Regions from separate parts of the Homo sapiens genome. Here all the other regions are linked to region 2. The links are contacts of gene promoters, found by promoter capture Hi-C in blood cells and fetal thymus (Javierre and others, 2016). All regions are on one chromosome and are shown on one strand. Each heading gives the region's core, a stretch centred on a gene start or on the middle of the fragment in contact. The rest is flanking DNA. Distances are from core to core; before and after follow the strand shown. Region 1 overlaps PYGL (glycogen phosphorylase L). Region 2 holds the start of ERO1A (endoplasmic reticulum oxidoreductase 1 alpha). Region 3 overlaps GMFB (glia maturation factor beta). Region 4 overlaps PYGL (glycogen phosphorylase L). Region 5 has its middle 6.9 kb from the start of CGRRF1. Region 6 overlaps NIN (ninein). Region 7 overlaps CNIH1 (cornichon family member 1).

Region 1 (2,700 bases), core at 113-2,612, 1.8 Mb before region 2:
TTCTATAAAGTCTATTTACTGGCAAGTTCCTTATGAACAAGAAGACTACCTAAGGTTTATTGGTGTTTGTTCTTATTGAAATTGGAAATTTCTCTATTGACTTAGACATTATTTGCCTTTGACATGGTAAAAGTCAGGCAAATATCATCAGAGTTGAAGGTGAGAGGTACAAAGTTCAGACCTGCTGAAAACCTTCTTTATATACAGCACAGTTTACTAATTAAAAAAAAAAAGCACCAGTGAGTAACTTCATTGCCCCCTTTTACAATATCTTATTCTCCAATCATCTATCCTCTCTTCTCTACTAGACACAAAACAAAATGGCAAAAATCTGTAAATGCACCAATATAGTTACCTCAAATTTTAGGGATTGCCCCATTTCCATAAGATAAGAAGTAAAAAAAGAAAAAATAATAATTTGGCCAATCAAAAAAAATTGTGAGTAGAATTCAGTATAATAAAGGCGTATTATCATATTTAACATACTAGTTACACATAAATATTTAAAACAAAATATTATTTGAAAACGTCAACTTGGAAATTTCATTCTTTCCCATTTTCCTTTTATGAACAATTGAGTTCTAAATTTCACAACAAATGGTCAACATCCATGACCTAACGGGCCACCTAACACTGCTTTCCAGAACACATCATCTTCGTTTTCATCCAAGTTGTTTGAATGTCTATAATGCTGTTACTAGAACCCTCACCAGCTATTAGATACCTTCGAATGATTGGATAAAAGTACCTTCTCTGGGGCAGACATAGGCAATGGCTGGTGCTCTAGTACGTGATGACCGCTGTCACAGGTAATAGTATCTTAAGCCACAAATACCCATTTGCATAGTATTACCCAGTTTAAAAAAATCCTTCCATGTGTGTATTTTCATTATCTCTATAACCATGATGTTTTGCCTTTTTCTTTTAAGTAATCTACAAAAAGCTTGTTTATATAGTATATATTCCACACTTGCAATTGTGAGGTTATACCCCCAGGAATAATGACTACATCTGTATTAAATTTGCCTCCTTTTTAATGATTCCACATTAGCACGAACTTAAGTCTTCTTAAAAATATTTCAAAGTCTCTCTTGAGAGATATGTGGTTGCTCAGAATAAAGTAAATGAGAAAATACTTCCTTGCATGACAGACTTTATAAGGACAGGAACGTAAGGTGATTCCCTGTTTTCTCACAAATAACTTCTTAGAGGTAATCTCTCCTTATATTTGGGAATATATAAGACTTCAAAAAATAGATCTTGGCCATACTCTTACTTACTGGTCTCTAAATATTTGTTACATATGACTGATAGTAAAATATATGAGCATCTCCAATATACTTTATAAATTACATGCATGTACTATGATTACTAGTATTTTATGTAAAAAGTGGATATTTTCAAAAGGCTTGTAAAATAAAATAAAGAAGATATAACAAATATTTTTAAATTGTATGTTTTATTTTTATCCCCAGCATTAGTCAGAGGGCCTGGGTACTTCCGGGAAGACCTCTGGAACACCTGTCAATAAACCTGAGACTTGCAGGACAGGCAAGAGTTGAGCATAGAAATGTGGTAGGAAGGACACTGCAAGTGAATCGGGGGCCCAGAGTGGGGATTGGTTTGTTGGGAGAGCAAGGTGGGTACAGAGGGTAATGGAAGATAACAAGGGAAGAACAGGCCCACCTGGACTGAGAAGTGCTTTCGAATACTTGCTTAAGTTCTATGGCAGGCAAGAGGAGCCAATGATAATTGAGCAGGGGCAAGATGCGTTGCTTTAGGAAGCTTGAGCAGACCACAATGCACAGAATGAGACGGGATCATATACTCAAATGCCTTCAGGAGCTAGGCAGAGAAAATAAATGTGTAATTGAGGTCACATAAAACAAAGAAGAGTACTGGGCTAAGAAATGGAGTGTGCAAGTCCTGACCACAGGCGCTAAAAATTAAATTCCTGAAAAATGTCTTGGCCAACAAAGTATGTCTGCTATCCTTATTCAGCCTCAGGCTGCCGGTTTTACCACTTCTGGAAAGCAAAATAACCACGTGAAGTCAGCTGCAACAAATGGGTAGCTAGAGCCTCACCAAGGCAGGAAGAGATAATGGAGGAGAGCACGTCATTCAAGGGAACCTATAGAAATCAACAGAAATTGGCAAACAGTTGAACGGCAAAAAGTGAGACTAAAGTTTGCGTCTGGATTGTCAAGATGACAATGGCATGAAAACAAAAAACACAGAGGCCAGTCGTGGTGGCTCATGCCTGTAATCCCAGCACTTTGGGAGGCCGAGGTGGGTGGATCACCAGGTCAGGAGTTCGAGACCAGCCTGTCCAAATGGTGGAATCCTGTCGCTACTAAAAATACAAAAAGTAGCTGGGCATGGTGGCATGCACCTGTAATCCCAGCTACTCAGGAGGCTAAGGCAGGAGAATCACTTGAACCCGAGAGGCAGAGGTTGCAGTGAGCCGAGATTGCATCATTGCACTCCAACATGGGTGACAGAGTGAGACTCTGTCACAAAACAAAACAAAACACGGGAAGATGGGGCAGGATTGGGAGAAATAATGGTTTGAGTTTTTAACGTACTGAGTTTGAGGAAATAGGAAGATATCTAGATATGTTCACTAAACACTCAGAAATGTACGCATAGAGTTAGAAAAGGAATTCAGACTAGGGATCCATATTTGGGATTCATCTGCAC
Region 2 (2,700 bases), core at 13-2,512:
AAAGTAGCAATTTTCTTTCAACTTCCCTTAGTTTCCTAGATAACACTCACCTCAACTCCCAAATCACTCAGCAAAACAACAAAATCCAAGAATGTAAAGTAGTGAAAGAGAAACCTTTCATAATATTTAAATGCATCTTTCCTTTGACATGGTATCATGCCCCTAAACACATAAAATGGTATTTCTGATAATAAATTAATAGCAAAATCCACTTAGGAATAACATGGATGCCTAACCCTTAATTTTGTATAAAACGTAATTTTTATCAACAGAGTCAACCAAAAAGTGGCTTTGACAAGAGTAATCACATTGAAATACTAGATACTGAAGATAATGGAAAACTGTAAGTTTCTCTCAATTTTTTGCTCAAGAAACCACATCTCTTACAGAAGGAAATGATCATAATCCGCTTGTAATTAAACTTGTGCACTGAAGAATAAGGACCTTCCTCCCAATTCGTACCAGCTTAACGGGTGTCACGATAAGAGAATCTCATTACATTCGAGAAAAAGAGCACACAGGACCAGAAACCAGAGGGCAACTGCAGTCCCAAAGACATCAGGTAGTTGGGCTTACACACAGAAAAACCGCAAGCAGCCATTCTTCCGCCTAACATCGAAATCTGAGATCAGCCCACAAACGTCTTAGCCAGAAAGGCTGGCGAAATGCACGCAGCACAGGTACTGGGTACACAAGTTCCTGGTCAAGAGAGAAGTGAGAAAGATCCAGGTTCTGTGAAAATAGCAAATACTGGCAGGGCATTATACACTGTGCACACTCTCCCCGGGCAGATAAGACCAACAAAGATGCATAAACCCACTCAACCGCGTGCACCCAACCCCTCTCCTGGTCCGAGGCACCGGAGGGCGCGGCGACGTCCAGGCTGCCGTGGAGGCCCGGTCCACGCCAAGCCAGACTCAGTCCCGGCCACCGGGCAGCAGCACCGGAGTCTCATTCCCGGTGGGAAGAGATGCAAGGACGCACCCCCAGCCGCTCACCCGCCAGGGCGTGCGGGACAGTGCACGCCGCGGAGGGCGCCGGGACCCTCAGCACCAACGCGCACATCGCTCACCTGGCAGAAGCACCTCTGTGCCGCTGTCTCCGGGGGCTGCTCCTCTCCGTGGCCCGAGCTGAGCAGCCACACGGCGCCCAGGAGGCCAAACAAGAATCCCCAGCCGCGGCCCATTGCAGCTCCGGCAGCTTGTCGCCCCACGCTTGGGAGGCCAGTCCGCACGCTCGGTCGCGGGCCGTGCGCCCTCAGATGAAGCCCGTGCGGGCCGGCCCCAGCGGCGCCCCACCTCCGGGCCGCCTCCCAGGCCCGCCTCGGCCCTCCTGCCTCTCAGCGATCGCCACCTCGCGACCCAGCCTGTGGACGTGCCGCGGCGCCCGCGCCGGCAGCCCGGGGCCTCGGACCGGTTCCTTCCCGCCGCGTGAGGCTGACGCACCGACCAGCTTCCCGGCTCGGCCCCGCCCGGTCCGCTGCGCCCGCGCCCGTCCCCGCCCCCGGCTCCCTGACGCCCCCGGCCTGGAGACGCAACCCGACGCGCACAACCCCAGACCCTGCGCGGGAGTCGGGGGTCCTTCCAGTTCCCAGAGCGAGAGCGAAAGCCGGAGGGGCCTGTGTTTTCCTGCGGGGTTGGGGGGCGGGGGGTGCCCGCCCCGCGCCGCCCCGCCCAGCCCCAGCCCGCTCACTCCCGGCCAATCCTTCCGTATCTCAATGCGAGACAATCAAATCGTACGAATTACGTGTCCACCGTGTTCCCGGCGGAGTCTTAAAGCTGAAAGGGATATTAGAGAGCATCTAGACCAGGGCAGCATATGTCATTTATATTTTTAGTAGCCACAGCAAAAGAGTAAAAATAACAGGTACATTTTATTTTTAAAATATTTTTATTTAACCCCGAATGTGCAAAATATTATTTCAAAATATAACCAACATTAAATTTATTCATAAGATATTTGACTTTTTTTGTCTTTGAAATCCAGTGTGTATTCGATGCGAACTAGACCCATTTCATAGTCAAATGTGGCTGGCTAGTGCCCACTGTATTAGACAGCGAGGGTGGAAGCCACCCGCTCATATCATAGGAAGAAACAGGCCTAGAGAAGTGAGGTAAGGTGAGCAAGGATTGGAGGTCCTCTGATACCCAGTCCTGGTCTTTTAACATTCAGAGTTGGGACTAGTCTATCCGCTTTTTTTTTTTCCAGACAGGGTCTCCCTGGGTCACCCAGGCTGGCCTGCAATGATGCGATCGCAGCTCACTGCAACCTCGAACTCCTGGGCTCAAGCGATCCTCCCACCTAAGCCTCCTGAGTAGCATGAACTACAGGCGTGCGCCACCACGCCTGGCTAATTTTATTTTTAGTAGAAACGAGGTTTCACCATGTTGCCCAGGCTGGTCTCAAACTCCTCAAGAGCGATTCTCCCGCCTCAGCCTCCCAAAGTGCTGGGATTACTTTTTTTTTTTTTTTCGAGGCGGAGTCTCGCTCTGTCGCCCAGGCTGGAGTGCAGTGGCGTCATCTTGGCTTACTGCAATCTCTGCCTCCCAGGTTCAAGAGATTCTCCTGCCTGAGCTTCCCCAGTAGCTGGGATTACAGGCGTAAGCCACCACACACTCGGCTAATTTTTGTATTTTCAGTAGAGAAGGGGTTTTGCCATGTTGGCCAGGCTGGTCTCTAGCTCTGAGCTCAGGTGACCCA
Region 3 (2,700 bases), core at 55-2,554, 1.8 Mb after region 2:
GACAGATCTCTACAATGAAAATTATAAAACACAGATGAAAGAAATTGAAGAGAACATACAAAAATGGAAAGATTCCAAGCTCATGGATTACAAGACATAATATTGTTAAAATGTCCATACTAACCCAAAGTGATCTACAGATTCAATGCAATCCCCATCAAAATACCAATGACATTCTTAAAAGCAAGAGAGAAAAGATCCTAAAATTTGTAAGGAGCCACAAAAGACTGTGAATAGCCAAAGCAACCCTCAGCAAAAAGAACAAAGCAGTACTTCAAAATATACTACAAAACAATAGTTACCAAAACAGCATGATCCTGGCATAAAACCACACACACAGGCCAATGAAACAGAATAGAGAACCCAGAAGTAAATCTACACATTTATAGCCAACTCATTTTGGACAATGATGCCAAAAACATACACTGGGGAAAGGACACTCTCTCCAATAAATGGTGCTGGGAAAACCAGATAGCTATATGCAGAATAAAACCAGACCCCGGGCCGGGCACAGTGGCTCACGCCTGTAATCCCAGCACTTTGGGAGGCCGAGGCGGGCGGATCATGAGGTCAGGAGTTCGAGACCAGCCTGGCTAACATGGTGAAACCCCGTCTCTACTAAAAATACAAAAATTAGCTGGGCGTGGTGGCAAGCGTCTGTAATCCCAGCTACTCGGGAGGCTGAGGCAGGAGAATCGCTTGAACCCGGGAGGCTGAGGTTGCAGTGAGCCGAGATTGCACCACTGCACTCTAGCCTGGCGACAGAGCGAGACTCCATCTCAAAAACAAAAACAAAAAAACAAAAACAAACAGACCCCAACTCTCAGCATATACAAAAATCAAATCAAAATGGATTAAAGACTTAAATGTAAGATCTGAAACTATACAACCACTAGAAGAAAACACTGGGCAATTGCTTCAGGACATTGGTCTGGGCAAAGATTTTTTTGAGTAAGACCTCAAAAGCACAGACAACTAAAGCAAAATAGACAAATGAGATCATATCAAGCTAAAAAGCTTCTGAGAGGAAAGAAAACAACGAGTGAAGAGACAACCTACAGAATGGGAGAAAATATCTGCAAATTCTCCACTCAACAAAGGATTAATAATCAGAATATACAAGGATCTCAAACAACTCAATAGCAAAAAATTCCCATTTAGTCCTAATAATAGTTAACATGTATCAGACCCTATGAGAGAAACACTGTTATATCCTTTACATAGATTTCCTTTTATGTTCAAAACAATCTCACGAAACAGATACTATTATTACTCCCATTTTGCAAGAAACTAAGGTTTAGAGAGGTTAAGTATCTTTCCCCAATTACATAGCTAGTGGAGCCAGGATTCAACCCAGGCAGCCTATCTTAACTCACTCTCTTAACCACTACAAAGGAGGTGGTGACAGATTGGATATTGGGGGTGGGGGTGGGGTGTGAGTAAGCAAAAAAAAGGGTTACCAGATATACTAGGCTTCTGGCTGGTATAACAGATTGTCTTGTATAACAGACAGAAGACTAGGTTTGAGGAGAAAGGGCATGAGTTCTACTTTGGACAAACTGAGGTGGCTTTGAGGAGACCAAGTGGAGGAAAAGCTTCCCAGGGGAATGGTAACTAAATATTGAAATATTAATATATAGATCTGGGGTCAGGCGCGGTAGCTCACGTCTGTAATCTCAACACTTTGGGAGGCCGGGGCAGGTGGATCACTTGAGGTCAGGAGATCGAGACCATCCTGGCTAACATGGTGAAACCCCGTCTCTACTAAAAATACAAAATTAGGGCCGGGCGCGGTGGCTCACGCCTGTAATCCCAGCACTTTGGGAGGCCGAGGCAGGTGGATCACGAGGTCAGGAGATCGAGACCATCCTGGCTAACACGGTGAAACCCCGTCTGTACTAAAAATACAAAAACAAAATTAGCCGGGTGTGGTGGCGGGAGCCTGTAGTCCCAGCTACTCGGGAGGCTGAGGCGGGAGAACGAACGGCGTGAACCAGGGAGGCGGAGCTTGCAGTGAGCGGAGATCGCGCCACTGCACTCCAACCAACGCGACAGAGCGAGACTCCATCTCAAAACAAACAAACAAAAAAACAAAATTAGCCGGGCGTGGTGGCACATGCCTGTAATCCCAGCTACTTGGGAGGCTGAGGCAGGAGAACTGCTTGAACCTGGGAGGCGGAGGTTGCAATGGGCCGAGATCCCGCCATTGCACTCCAGCCTGGGCCACAAGAGTGAAACTCCGACTCAAAGAAAAAAAAGTACATACAGATCTGGATTGGATCTCAGAAGCAAGGTCTTCTGAGCTGTAAATTCACAAGTCATCTGAATATAGATGGTAACTGAAGCCATAGTTTAGGATGAAGAATACAGAATGGAAAATGAAGGATTAGGATGAAACCTGGGACTCCTTCGAGCATTGTCCAGGGAAAGGAGAATAGTCTGAAAGGGAAACAGATGGACCAATAGGAGAAGTAGGAGGAGCTCTGTATCCCAGAAGCCAAAGGGGAAGAATGAAGGAAGAGAATGCTTCAAAAACAAGAGAGTATAACACTCTGGAATGCAGCTAAAAGGTCAGAGAAGACGAAAACTGAAAAGAATCCATTCGATTCAGTGACCATGACAAGATCTATTCGATGAAAGTGGGCTGAGAATTGAGTGGATGGTCACAGAGAGCAGTGTTTTGTTGTTTCTAATGAAATT
Region 4 (2,700 bases), core at 127-2,626, 1.8 Mb before region 2:
ATTTTAGTGATTCCTACAGTGATCTGCCAAATCAGCTGATAATTAGCTGAGTTGAGTCTAAGAGGTAAGCTTTGGAAAATCTAGCTTGATCTTTGTGACAGTCACTGAAATAGAGAAGAGGAAGATTAACTATGTTTCACAGTGCATCGAAAATTCAAGTGAGAAATCATTCATTTTTATTCCCGGCCTCATCAGAGTCAAGCTCGAAGGAAGGAGAATGACAGAATAATTGAACTGGAGGATGCTGGATCTCATTTAGTGCAACCCACTTATTTTGGACATGAGGGAGCTGAAGCTGAGAGAGAAGTGACTTGCCCAAGATCACAGTCATGGCAGGATTGAAACTTAAACACGCATCTCTTTAATTTGGTCTGCTGAATTGTGAATGAATGAAGCATTATGGCCCATATCAATCACATATACTCAGTCATACTTTCGTGATCACCGCGACCTCAAAGTAATAAATCACCCTCATTTAAATATCTTTCATTAAGAGATAAAAGTCTCTGGACTTTTAAAGCAAGTTGTAATCAATCAGGGAAAGTCATTTGCAGGCTGGGATTGAGTCTCGGTTCAAACAAGAGTTGGACCCTTCTGACCCTTGAAGCATAATTAAGGCAGCCCAAGAAGTGCACAGCTTAGATCTTCTTTCAGAGAACCTCAAAGAGGACTTGCTCCCTCAGAGCTCACACCAAAGCTGCGCTCTCTGGGACACTCCATGTGGCTGGGACACTAGGGCCGAGACTTCTCTAATGGGCAATCTTTAGTGTCAGGCTCCATCAGCCTGGCCACTTGCTCAGAGTGGCACTGTGGTCTGAGGCTCTCCCTGAGAATGCTGCTTCTTTCCCCTTCACTTTTCACAGGTGGCACACCTGTGTCACAGTCTGAAGCCTTCCCACCTCATCCTGCTCCCTCTCCCCTTTGTCTTTCATAGGCATCCCCCAATATGTCACTTGCACTTCTCATTCTCTCTGGTGTCTGTTTCCTAGAGGACCTAAACTGACACGTGACTGTGTCATTTGACTTTATTGGAAGCCATCCCATGCACGCACAGAGCACATCTGGACTCATGCTCTGACATCACTGGGTACCAGTTTGGGGTTAATTCATGTGATGACTTCAATCTATGAGGCTAAGTTGCATGGCTTGGGCCAGCTCACTTATATTACCTCTGCCCCCTAACCTTGCCTCTGTTGGCCCAGAAACACACACTCTCTCTAATTGAATTTCTGGATACATTATGACAGTATCTAGAGGTGTTTTGTAAATGCAAGTTAGCTCAGCAGTGGGACCCACAGTGTAAATAAAATGCTTCCAGGATTGATTGTGTAAACTGCAAACTTTTATTTTTATTTTATTTTATTTTATTTTTTTTGAGACAGAGTCTCACTCTGTTACCCAGGCTGGAGTGCAGCGACATGATCTCAGCTCACTGCAACCTCCACCTCCTAGGTTCAAGCGATTCTCCTGCCTCAGCCTCCCATGTAGCTGGGACTATAGGCATGGGCCACCACTCCTGGCTAATTTTCGTATTTTTAGTACAGATAGGGATTCACCATGTTGGCCAGGCTGGTCTTGAACTCCTGACCTCAGGTGATCTGCCCGCTTCGGCTTCCCAAAGTGCTGGGATTACAGTTGTGAGCCACTGCACCCAGCCAGGAATGACATTTCAAATTATTCAATTTTGCTATCAACACCTTAATATAAAACCAAAGAGGTAAGCATGCTGGTTACTATAGAACTGACAATTTTCTGGCAAAAAAAAAAAAAAAAAAAAAAGAACTGACAATTTTCTGACAAAGCTGGTTGCAAAATGACCCTTATAAAAGTCACTCCTCTCTTGGCCTCAGCTCCTTTGTCTCCAAAATGACTGGGCTGCGCTAAGAGAAGTAACAGATTTATTTACAAAAATATATTCTATTATTCAAAACACGACATGCCCTATACTCAATATCACCACTATATGCTACATAGTCAATGTATTATCTACTGTACTAAATACTATACAAAACGCTGGCTATACGAGCACTCTGAATACTTGAGTGTCAATCCACTTGGTCCCGGTGTTGGTGTGTTCTACTTTTCCATAGAAGTGCACAGGCAGCATGAATTCTGGGCGGGACTTCTCCCAAGGGTTTCCATATCTGAGCCAATCATCTGCTTCTTCTACCTGCAAAAGGATACAGTATTGCTTAGAATTTATTTGTCAGGAAATATGAACCTAGCACTTCAATTATATTATATTAAATTTAAAACATCTTTAACTGAAACAACTTATGAATACTGAGTACTGTTTTGTAACTTTTTTACAGCCTACATCAACAATAATACTCGCTAATACAGCTCTAAATATTTTATATGTATTACTGCATTTAATCCTCTTTTAAAGATGAGGAATTGTAACTGCTCAAGGTCAAATAGTAAACGGTAGAGATAAGATCTCAAGGTCAAACAGTAAACGATAGAGATAAGATCTGCCCTTAGGTCTCTGTGTTCCAGAGCCTCTGTCTTAACGTCTGTGAATCCAATTGTCCAGCTTCAGCTAAAGACAGACGCCTTACAGGGATGTTTATCGTTGGATACCTGGGCCTGTTGAGTCCTACACAAAGGGTTCAGTCAAGATTCTTGTGGCTAGAATATACAGAATCAGTTAGAAAATGCTACTTACAGAACACTCTTTTAATCAAGCTTATTGGTATA
Region 5 (2,700 bases), core at 184-2,683, 1.8 Mb after region 2:
GAGGTCATATTGGGATTGGAGGGCTGGATCACGTAGAGCCTCCTTAAGTGATCACAAGGACTTTGTCCACCCTAGGGTTATGGGGATGGCTGAACACACCCCACCTGACACTGGACAGGTGAGATCAACAGCAGTTTATTGGTCTTATATACTTCCAGCAAAGGGGAAGAGGACACAGCATGGCCCAAGGGTGCTGCACTTGGGAACGGAATGAACAATCAGGAGCTGTGGAACCAGGCTTTGTAGTGAGTGGGATACTCAAGAGGGTGGGATACTCCAAAGGAGTTCAGGGAATGCCACCCCCAAATATGATGCTTTGGTATGCAGATTACTTTGAACTGAGGACACGTGGGGAACAAGAGTTGCAGGCAGAGGCTTTCTCGAAGCATCCTCCAATCTGCCTGAAGATGAATCCTCCAAAAGGAATTCGATTGTCAAGAATCCCCTTTCTGGGAATCTTATTAACCATATCAACCAGGGAAGATGAACTTGGATTGCAGTGGAGGAGACTAGAGGTTGACCCATGCCCAGACAGACTATCACCTATGTTTTTGAAGGCTGCTTTAAGACAACTTTTTTTACCCAAGGGACTTTTTATCTGTATAACAAGACAACATTTATTCAGCAAAATTTCCTCTCCTCGCTTTTCCATAACTTATATCATTATCACCCCTCAGAAGCCCCGAGTCACTGTTCCTTTCTGTAGCTCAGGATGCTATATAAGCTTCAATCATCTGACTCTTCTTCGAGTCTCATATTTTGTGGGATTCTCATGCGTACATCCATTATTAATTATGGCTTTTCTCTTGTTAATCTGTTGCATGTCAATTTAATTTGAGGCCAGCCAAAGAACCTAGAAGGGTAAAGGGAAGCTATTTTTCCCTCCTCTACAGCTCTTTGGTTCCTGCAGTAGGAAGTGATGGGCTTGTTTAAATAATCCTGTGGGCTGGCAGGGAACTGAAACCCACTACTCAGGGATAAGCAGACACCGTGCCTGGTACTCCTGATAAGGAGGGCTGTTTGGCTAGGGGACTTTATCCATGGGAGCGGAGTGGAGAAAGGAACTTGAGGTTAAGCCTTTCCCAATTTCACCAGATGTCAAGACAGCACATAATATTAGATCCTAACTTCAGGGCTTGCACCACAGGAAGTCAAAACTTGTAGAATGACTAGAATGACACCCAAATTTTCTAGTTCTTTTTTTTCTCCTTTACTGTCTGACTCTGACCTAAGCAGGCTGAATCAAAGAAGCTGACTCAGAAAGCAAAGTAGAGACTTTGAAAACTGAGCTGCCCTTCTGTATCTTGATTGTGATTACAGTTACATGACCTCTATACATCTGTGAAAACTCATAGATCTGTACACTAAACATGGTGAACATTACTGTATATAAATAAAAAATTAAATTAAATTTTAAATAAGTTTTTTTCTTTCTTTTTTTCTTTTTTTTTTTTTTTTTTAGACGGAGTCTTGCTCTGTCACCCAGGCTGGAGTGCAGTGATGCGATCTCAGTTCACTGCAACCTCTACCTCCCGGGTTCAAATGATTCTCCTGCCTCAGCCTGCTGAGTAGCTGGGATCACAGGCACACACCACCATTCCCGGATAATTTTTGTATTTTTAGTAGAGACGGGGTTTCACCATATTGTCCTGGCTGGTCTCGAACTCCTGACCTCGTGATCTGCCCACCTCGGCCTCCCAAAGGGCTGTGATTACAGGCATGAGCCACTATGCCCGGCCTTAAATAAGTATTTTTTAAAAAGAAAAAGACTAGACTGTGGAGAGCAGAGACAGAAGAAGGACACTATTCAGGAGGCTACTGTGGTAACCCCGGAAAAGACATGGCCTGGACCAAGGTGGAAACAGTGATTTGGTGCGAAGTGCCCAGGGCCAATAGAATTTTCTGTACCAGGGTTTCTCAACCTCAGCAATATTGACATTGGATAATTGGATACATTTTTTGTTGTGAGTAGGCTGCACTGTGCATTGTAGGATGTTTAGCAGCATTCCTGGCCTCTACCCACTAGAGGCCAGTAGCAACTTCCTAGTTGTGACAAACAAAAATGTCTCCAGACATTGCCAAATGTTGAAGTGGTAGGGAGGAACACTCCGAGTTGAGAATCACTGTTCTAGATGAATGTCCTAAGCTTTGGGCCACAGACTAAATACCACATTAATCATCAGTGTCAGCTCAGTTGGAGCAGGCTTCAGGTAGCCTCCTACCACTTAGTATGTACAGACAACAGAAGCCCAGCATCTGAAACCATGAGAGTTTCAGGAACTTGGAAGTTCAATGGGCTATAAAGAGTTAAGCTGTTAGGTTCTGCCAAACTACTATAAGATTTTTCACAATTCCTGTTATCTATGATGTCATATCAAAATTGCACATTCAGTTCCATTTGCCAGTTTCTCATGTTTGAAACTCAAATTTAGGACCCTTATTATTTATATTCCTACCTATTTATATTTCCAAATTGAGATCTGACCTTCTGACCTTCCAGGAAAGAATGTGGACTATAGAAAGACAATATGAATGAAAGGGTTGGCAGCTCCAAGGCAAATAACATAAGGGAGATTATAACTTTCAAAAACATGTTAATATTTTTGCATTTCTTGGCCAGGCTCGGTGGCTCACACCTTTAATCCCAGCACTTTGGGAGGCCAAGGCGAATGGATCACCTGAGGTCAGGAGTTTGAGACC
Region 6 (2,700 bases), core at 172-2,671, 1.9 Mb before region 2:
TCAAGGGATGCATTTTTAAATTAATTAATTAATTTATATTGTTATTTTTATTTTTTGAGACAGAGTCTCTTCTGTTATCCAAGCAGGAGTGCAGTGGCACAATCACGGCTCACTACAGCCTCCAACTCTCGGGCTTAATGGATTCTCCCACCTCAGCCTTCTGAGTAGCTGGGACGACAGGCATGTGCTACCACACCTGGCTATTTTTAGTAGAGACGGGGTATGCCATGTTGCCCAGGCTGGTCATGAACTACTGCGTTCCAGTAATCCTCCTGCCTTGGCCTCCCAAAGTGCTGGGATTACAGGCGTGAGCCACTGTACCTGGCCAAGGGATGCACTTTAATAGGTCACTATTTAAGACTGTTAGAAAATTAATCTGAAAGTCTGTATAAGAGAGAAATTAGCCCGTAAGTAAAATTATATATCTTAGTTACCATCTCTTGCATGATACTAAATGCTAGGATTTTAAAACTAAAAGCTATCAATTGGGAATAAATTTTTTGTTGCTGTTGTTCTTAATGTTAATTCCCCTGGCCTGCAGCATAAGAGATCAGAAAGACCGGGTGTGGAGAGCACCCGGCGGCCCTTCCCTTCCAGGCACGTCCTGACACACTCGGCTCTTACCTTCCGCTTCATACTCCTCACTGCGTTGCGTCTTCCAGTGCTAGAGAAGGCAAGAGAAGATTAGTGTGCTTTAGAACTTATTCAGAAAGAACTATCCTAGCTTTTCCTAGAGCAGATCACTCTCTGGCTCTGAAATCATCATCTAAGTGAGTCACATAATTTCAGGACTCTCTAGTGTATCCATCTAGATGAGTTCTCTTCAGTTAACCAGCCAATCAGGACGAGACTCCTAAGAAACACCACACAGCCTTCTGCAGCATTTCACCAAGGATTTGTCCTCATTTGCTAGGTCACTTATTCAACAGCAAAACCTATCACAACCAATTAAACCCAGCCAAAGCAAATATCCAGTATCCATCAACCAACAAGTATCTGTACACATGCATTTATGAATTTATTCTTCAATAAATGTGTACTGAGTGCTTCTCTTTGTGCTAGGTACTGTGCTAGGTCTTGGTAATACAACCATGAACAACCATGAACAGGACAAACATATTTCCTGCCCCAAGAAGTTTATATGCTAATGAAGACATGCAGACAAGAAAACAGGAAATACAACAGGGTAGTATTTTAAGTGCTATGACAAGGAAGTTCAGGATGCTATGTTGCTATGCAGATGGGATACTTTAGACTTGTTAGATCGGGAAGAAGCAATGTCTAAACTGAGACCTGAAGGATAAACTGCAGAGAGCCAAATGAAAAGAAGGGGGCAGGCTGGGCACAGTGGCTTGCGCCTGTAATCCCAGCACTTTGGGAGGCCGAGGTGGGCGGATCACGAGGTCAGGAGATCGAGACCATCCTGGCCAACACAATGAAACCCCATCTCTACCAAAAATACAAAAAATTAGCCAGGCGAGGTGGCGGGTGCCTGTAGTCCCAGCTACTCGGGAGGCTGAGGCAGGAGAATGGCGTGAACCCGGGAGGCGGAGCTTGCAGTAAGCCGAGATCGCGCCACTGCACTCCAGCCTGGGCAACAGAGCGAGACTCCGTCTCAAAAAAAAAAAAAGAAAAGAAAAGAAGGGGGGCAGTTGTTATCTGCTGAAGCAAGGAGGCAAGAATGAGCCTAGTGTATCTGTGGCATAGTGAGGAGAGAGATGCAACTTAAAATAAGTAGGCTAGAGAAAGTATAAAATGTACATTACCAGTAAATTACATTAAAGGCAGTTCAATTTATCTGAATTGGACCATTTTGCCACCTTATCAGGCTTCATTACTCCTGCCTCTTCTCCAAAGTCACAGCATACAGTTGTAATTTGTGTACTGCATAAAAGTGCCCCGCTAAGAGCACAGGTCAGGACCGAAATCCAGCCCTTGCTCCACTGCCCGGGGATAGTACAGGTCGTCTTTTGACCAGTTGCAACAAGTAGGTCCACAGTGGCTGTGGCTTCCAGCAAATGGCTTTAGCCTCTCCAGCAAACTGCCTAAAACTAATCACTGTTATGGGGGGTTACTACAACCATCAAAGAAAACCCTGTTAGAAAAGGTGAATCGCCCTTTCCAAACGGGGCTGCTGTCATAGCAGTGATCCAGCTTTATGAATGAAGCTGCCTTTGATAACAAATAACCAGCACGTTTTCTGGGTAGCTGACCTGTACAAGACTAGTTGATTGCTTAGAATCCGAAAATAAACTCGACAGGAAAGTCAGCCTAATTAATACCTGTCTCTAGAACTTGGATTCCTCATGACAGATGGTATGGCACGTAAAATTTTTAGATGAAATGTTGTTTTTCAGTAGTTCATTCAAGTTAATACGAGTTGAAGTTCTTCTTTCAGGCAACCTACGCTCATCTACTTTATTCTCCACACTCACTAGTGGTAGTTCTCACCTCTTAAATGAGGGCCAACCACCTACCACAGTTTCACAGGTCCATGTTAGATATTTAAGATAGTATCAATTCAGAGAGTTCATTTAATTTGGCCATACCAAGCTGACAATGCTGAGATGGGTTGTTGCTGACAAATGGAAGACACCAAAAGGCCATAACTCAAAATGTTTAAGTTCACTACAATTCATGCAGATTACAATGGAAAGTCACTAATAAACATGGCATCAATGAAAAGTGAATTAGGACGTG
Region 7 (2,700 bases), core at 197-2,696, 1.7 Mb after region 2:
TAAATGTATCCATATATAATCATCGACATGACAGATGAGGAAACCCATGAAGTTTCCCACTAGTCAGATATACATTTTCACTTCATCAGAAGCACCTGATATCTACAGCTAATTTATAATTAGATACTGTTTCAATGAAACCAAAATGAGCCCTACAAGTTCCTATAAACAAAAGCTTCCAATGTACTAGGACAGTCAGTAATTAATGCATCATTCAGAGGATTATGGCTGTTCCTTAAGAAGTGCAAGTTCAAACCTGTCAACACCAGAGGTAATCATTTTATATTAATTTATACGTAATACCATTTAAAATCTTTATCTGAGTATAACATATGAAAACAGTCTTTCCACAAGCAAAAATGTGGAAACATTTAAAAAATAAGGAGTCATTTTTTAAAGTAACTGATCAGATTCCACAGGCTACTCTTGGACAGGATCTTGCTGGATAGAATCCCTTCATTTGGTGGCTTTTTGCATGCACTTAACTGGACCAATTCTTCTGTGTGTTGTTCTAAGAGCTCACCAAAACATAGATCATGCTGAAAAGAAGAAAAAAGATGTTAATTTGAACATTACTAATTATTAAAAAAAAACTCAGAGCATGAGAGAGTATGCTTTATATAGCAAACTAGTATCACAGAAAATGACAAGACTAATGACAAGTTCACAGTGATTTTAATTTGCATTTATGGACTTTTGCCTAACATATGACTTGGCTCAGTGCATATGCTGTAGTTGTCCCCTATTCCCTTCCAATTTTAGCAAGTAGAACGGCACAGCTGAAAGCTTAATGGCGGATCAGAGCTTAGAGAAGCCATCCAAACATCACACACTCTGGAGTTGTGTCTAATAATAGAATGAGTATCTCTGGAGGGCTCACTTCACGCCAGGCCCTGTTAGGTCTCTTATATACATTACCTTGCTTAATCCTTCAAGGAGTCCTAGAAGGCAGGTACCATGTGTATCCCCATTGTATAGAAAGGAATGATCAATCAAGGATCTTTCCCATTACAGAAAGGATCTAAGCAATAGCAACTTTTAGGAAGTGGTTAAAAAAGAAAAGGGGGGAAAACAGCAAAATAAAAGGCAATGACCTTTTGATTTAGGTTTAAGAACTGCCAAGGGCAATTCTACAGAGTGCTATGGGAACGGCATAGGGGCATGATTCAAAAAGCACATAACTCTAAACAGAAATACAAAGGAGTTGAACAAGCTTGATAGACAACCTTAAAACACAACAAATGTCCTGGTGCTACCATATCCTGCTGAACATTTTCCCACAACTGCACATCTCCAACTTTATCATTTATTCAATCATTCATTTCATTTCTTTCATTCAACAAATACGTATGAAGTGCCTATCATACACCAGCCCGTTCCAGACATTTGCTATGGAAACTTATGAAATGAAAATTAACAGGAAATTAAAGTGACACATAGAATTTCACTTTTCAGAGCACTTCTTTGTTTCATAGATGAGTAATATCTGCATATGCACTAAAGGATACTCATTTTCACAGTAATAGCCTCTAAAGGCATAAAAATACCAAAAATACCTTTTTCCTAAATTTCAGTCTAACCATTCATCTTTTCTATGATGGAAACTTATGTATGAAGAGAAATATGAATATGAATATAAGCCTATCTTAGCAAGTTTTCAAGTAATGAAAAAGAGAAGGGAAGCTTATGCTGTTTTTTAAAGCTTACAGCTTTTTTGGAAATATTCTGAAAATCAAGGAGAAAGTCCTCTCTAGTTGAGTATGTATTAATAAAAAATGAGAAAGTATTTTATATAAGTGATGTGTAAAAGTATATTCACATAGCTTAAAGAAATATATAATTCTACATTTAACAGTGTCCTTTTCTAGTTTTAATAAGCAGTCATTTCACTGCACCTACAACACACCTACAGCAGTGGTTCTCACCCAGGGCAATTTTGCCCCTCAGGACATCTGGCAATGTCCAGAGACATTTTTGGTTGTCATGAGGGGGCAGGAGGGTGCTCATGGCAACTAGTGGGTAAAGGCCAGGGATGCTGCTGAACGTCCCATGATATACAGGACAGCTTCCCACAGAAATTCCCACACAGCCCAGAAGCGTCAACAGTGCCGAAGCTGAGACACCCTGACCTAGAGGAACAATGAGTCCATGAGAGTATAAAAGGAAAAAAATCAGGCTGGGCGCGATGGCTCACGCCTGTAATCCCAGTACTTTGGGAGGCCAAGGTGGGCGGATCACCTGAGGTCGGGAGTTCAAGACCAACCTGGCCAACATGGTGAAACTCTGTCTCTACTAAAAATACAAAAATTAGCCGGGCGTGGTGGTGCACGCCTGTAATCCCAGCTACTCAGGAGGCTGAGGCAGGAGAATTGCTTGAACTTGGTGGGGCGGAGGTTGCAGTGAGCAGAGATCGCGCCACTGCACTCTAGCCTGGGCAACAGAGACTCCGACTCAAAAAAAAAGAACAAAAATCGGAAACTGCACCACCCTGTAAGGTAGAACTACTTCTTTCATTCATACCACTCAAATCAAGCAAATCAGAAAATAAAGGGCAGAGCACACCACTTATGAAGAATGATAAGGAAAAAATGAAACATAATGTCTGGAGAGACCCTGAAGACAAGCAGAAATTTCTGCAAACTCACACATCCCTATCCTTCAATGACATCACTTTGCCATGGAGAATGAGGACCATCCTTT

The links. Contacts are between HindIII fragments. The CHiCAGO score rates a contact against its expected background, and 5 or more counts as called.
Region 1: a contact is called between a fragment that was not itself captured here and the fragment with the promoter of ERO1A in region 2, in 1 of 17 cell types (neutrophils). The highest score is 7.3, in neutrophils.
Region 3: a fragment that was not itself captured here is called in contact with the fragment with the promoter of ERO1A in region 2 in 1 of 17 cell types (M2 macrophages); the score reaches 7.0 in M2 macrophages.
Region 4: a contact is called between a fragment that was not itself captured here and the fragment with the promoter of ERO1A in region 2, in 1 of 17 cell types (neutrophils). The highest score is 7.4, in neutrophils.
Region 5: a fragment that was not itself captured here is called in contact with the fragment with the promoter of ERO1A in region 2 in 1 of 17 cell types (M2 macrophages); the score reaches 6.7 in M2 macrophages.
Region 6: a fragment that was not itself captured here is called in contact with the fragment with the promoter of ERO1A in region 2 in 1 of 17 cell types (neutrophils); the score reaches 7.6 in neutrophils.
Region 7: a fragment that was not itself captured here is called in contact with the fragment with the promoter of ERO1A in region 2 in 1 of 17 cell types (M2 macrophages); the score reaches 5.2 in M2 macrophages.

What each region holds. Positions count from the first base shown.
Region 1 is chr14:50,939,361-50,942,060 of GRCh38, forward strand. All of the region lies in intron 1 of PYGL (glycogen phosphorylase L), which reads right to left. It overlaps LOC124903314 (a long non-coding RNA gene), which reads right to left. Exons shown (of 2, transcript XR_007064163.1): 2 at 1,441-1,845. Among named protein-coding and RNA genes, the nearest start is that of PYGL, 3.8 kb to the right of the region's middle. The HindIII fragment of the contact is 842 bases long and covers 942-1,783 here.
Region 2 is chr14:52,694,296-52,696,995 of GRCh38, forward strand. It overlaps ERO1A (endoplasmic reticulum oxidoreductase 1 alpha), which reads right to left and starts at 1,263. Exons shown (of 16, transcript NM_014584.3): 1 at 1,073-1,263. The coding sequence starts at 1,186. RefSeq lists enhancers at 788-1,289, 895-944 and a silencer at 1,195-1,734. The HindIII fragment of the contact is 13,242 bases long and covers 1-2,700 here.
Region 3 is chr14:54,485,468-54,488,167 of GRCh38, forward strand. All of the region lies in intron 1 of GMFB (glia maturation factor beta), which reads right to left. Among named protein-coding and RNA genes, the nearest start is that of GMFB, 2.2 kb to the right of the region's middle. The HindIII fragment of the contact is 578 bases long and covers 1,016-1,593 here.
Region 4 is chr14:50,921,931-50,924,630 of GRCh38, forward strand. PYGL (glycogen phosphorylase L) reads right to left here. Exons shown (of 20, transcript NM_002863.5): 5 at 2,039-2,170. Among named protein-coding and RNA genes, the nearest start is that of PYGL, 21 kb to the right of the region's middle. The HindIII fragment of the contact is 2,619 bases long and covers 68-2,686 here.
Region 5 is chr14:54,501,666-54,504,365 of GRCh38, forward strand. No RefSeq gene overlaps it. Among named protein-coding and RNA genes, the nearest start is that of CGRRF1, 6.9 kb to the right of the region's middle. The HindIII fragment of the contact is 1,422 bases long and covers 723-2,144 here.
Region 6 is chr14:50,778,141-50,780,840 of GRCh38, forward strand. It overlaps NIN (ninein), which reads right to left. Exons shown (of 31, transcript NM_020921.4): 6 at 625-664. Among named protein-coding and RNA genes, the nearest start is that of NIN, 52 kb to the right of the region's middle. The HindIII fragment of the contact is 4,250 bases long and covers 1-2,700 here.
Region 7 is chr14:54,427,303-54,430,002 of GRCh38, forward strand. CNIH1 (cornichon family member 1) reads right to left here. Exons shown (of 5, transcript NM_005776.3): 5 at 1-539. The coding sequence ends at 512. Among named protein-coding and RNA genes, the nearest start is that of CNIH1, 13 kb to the right of the region's middle. The HindIII fragment of the contact is 470 bases long and covers 1,212-1,681 here.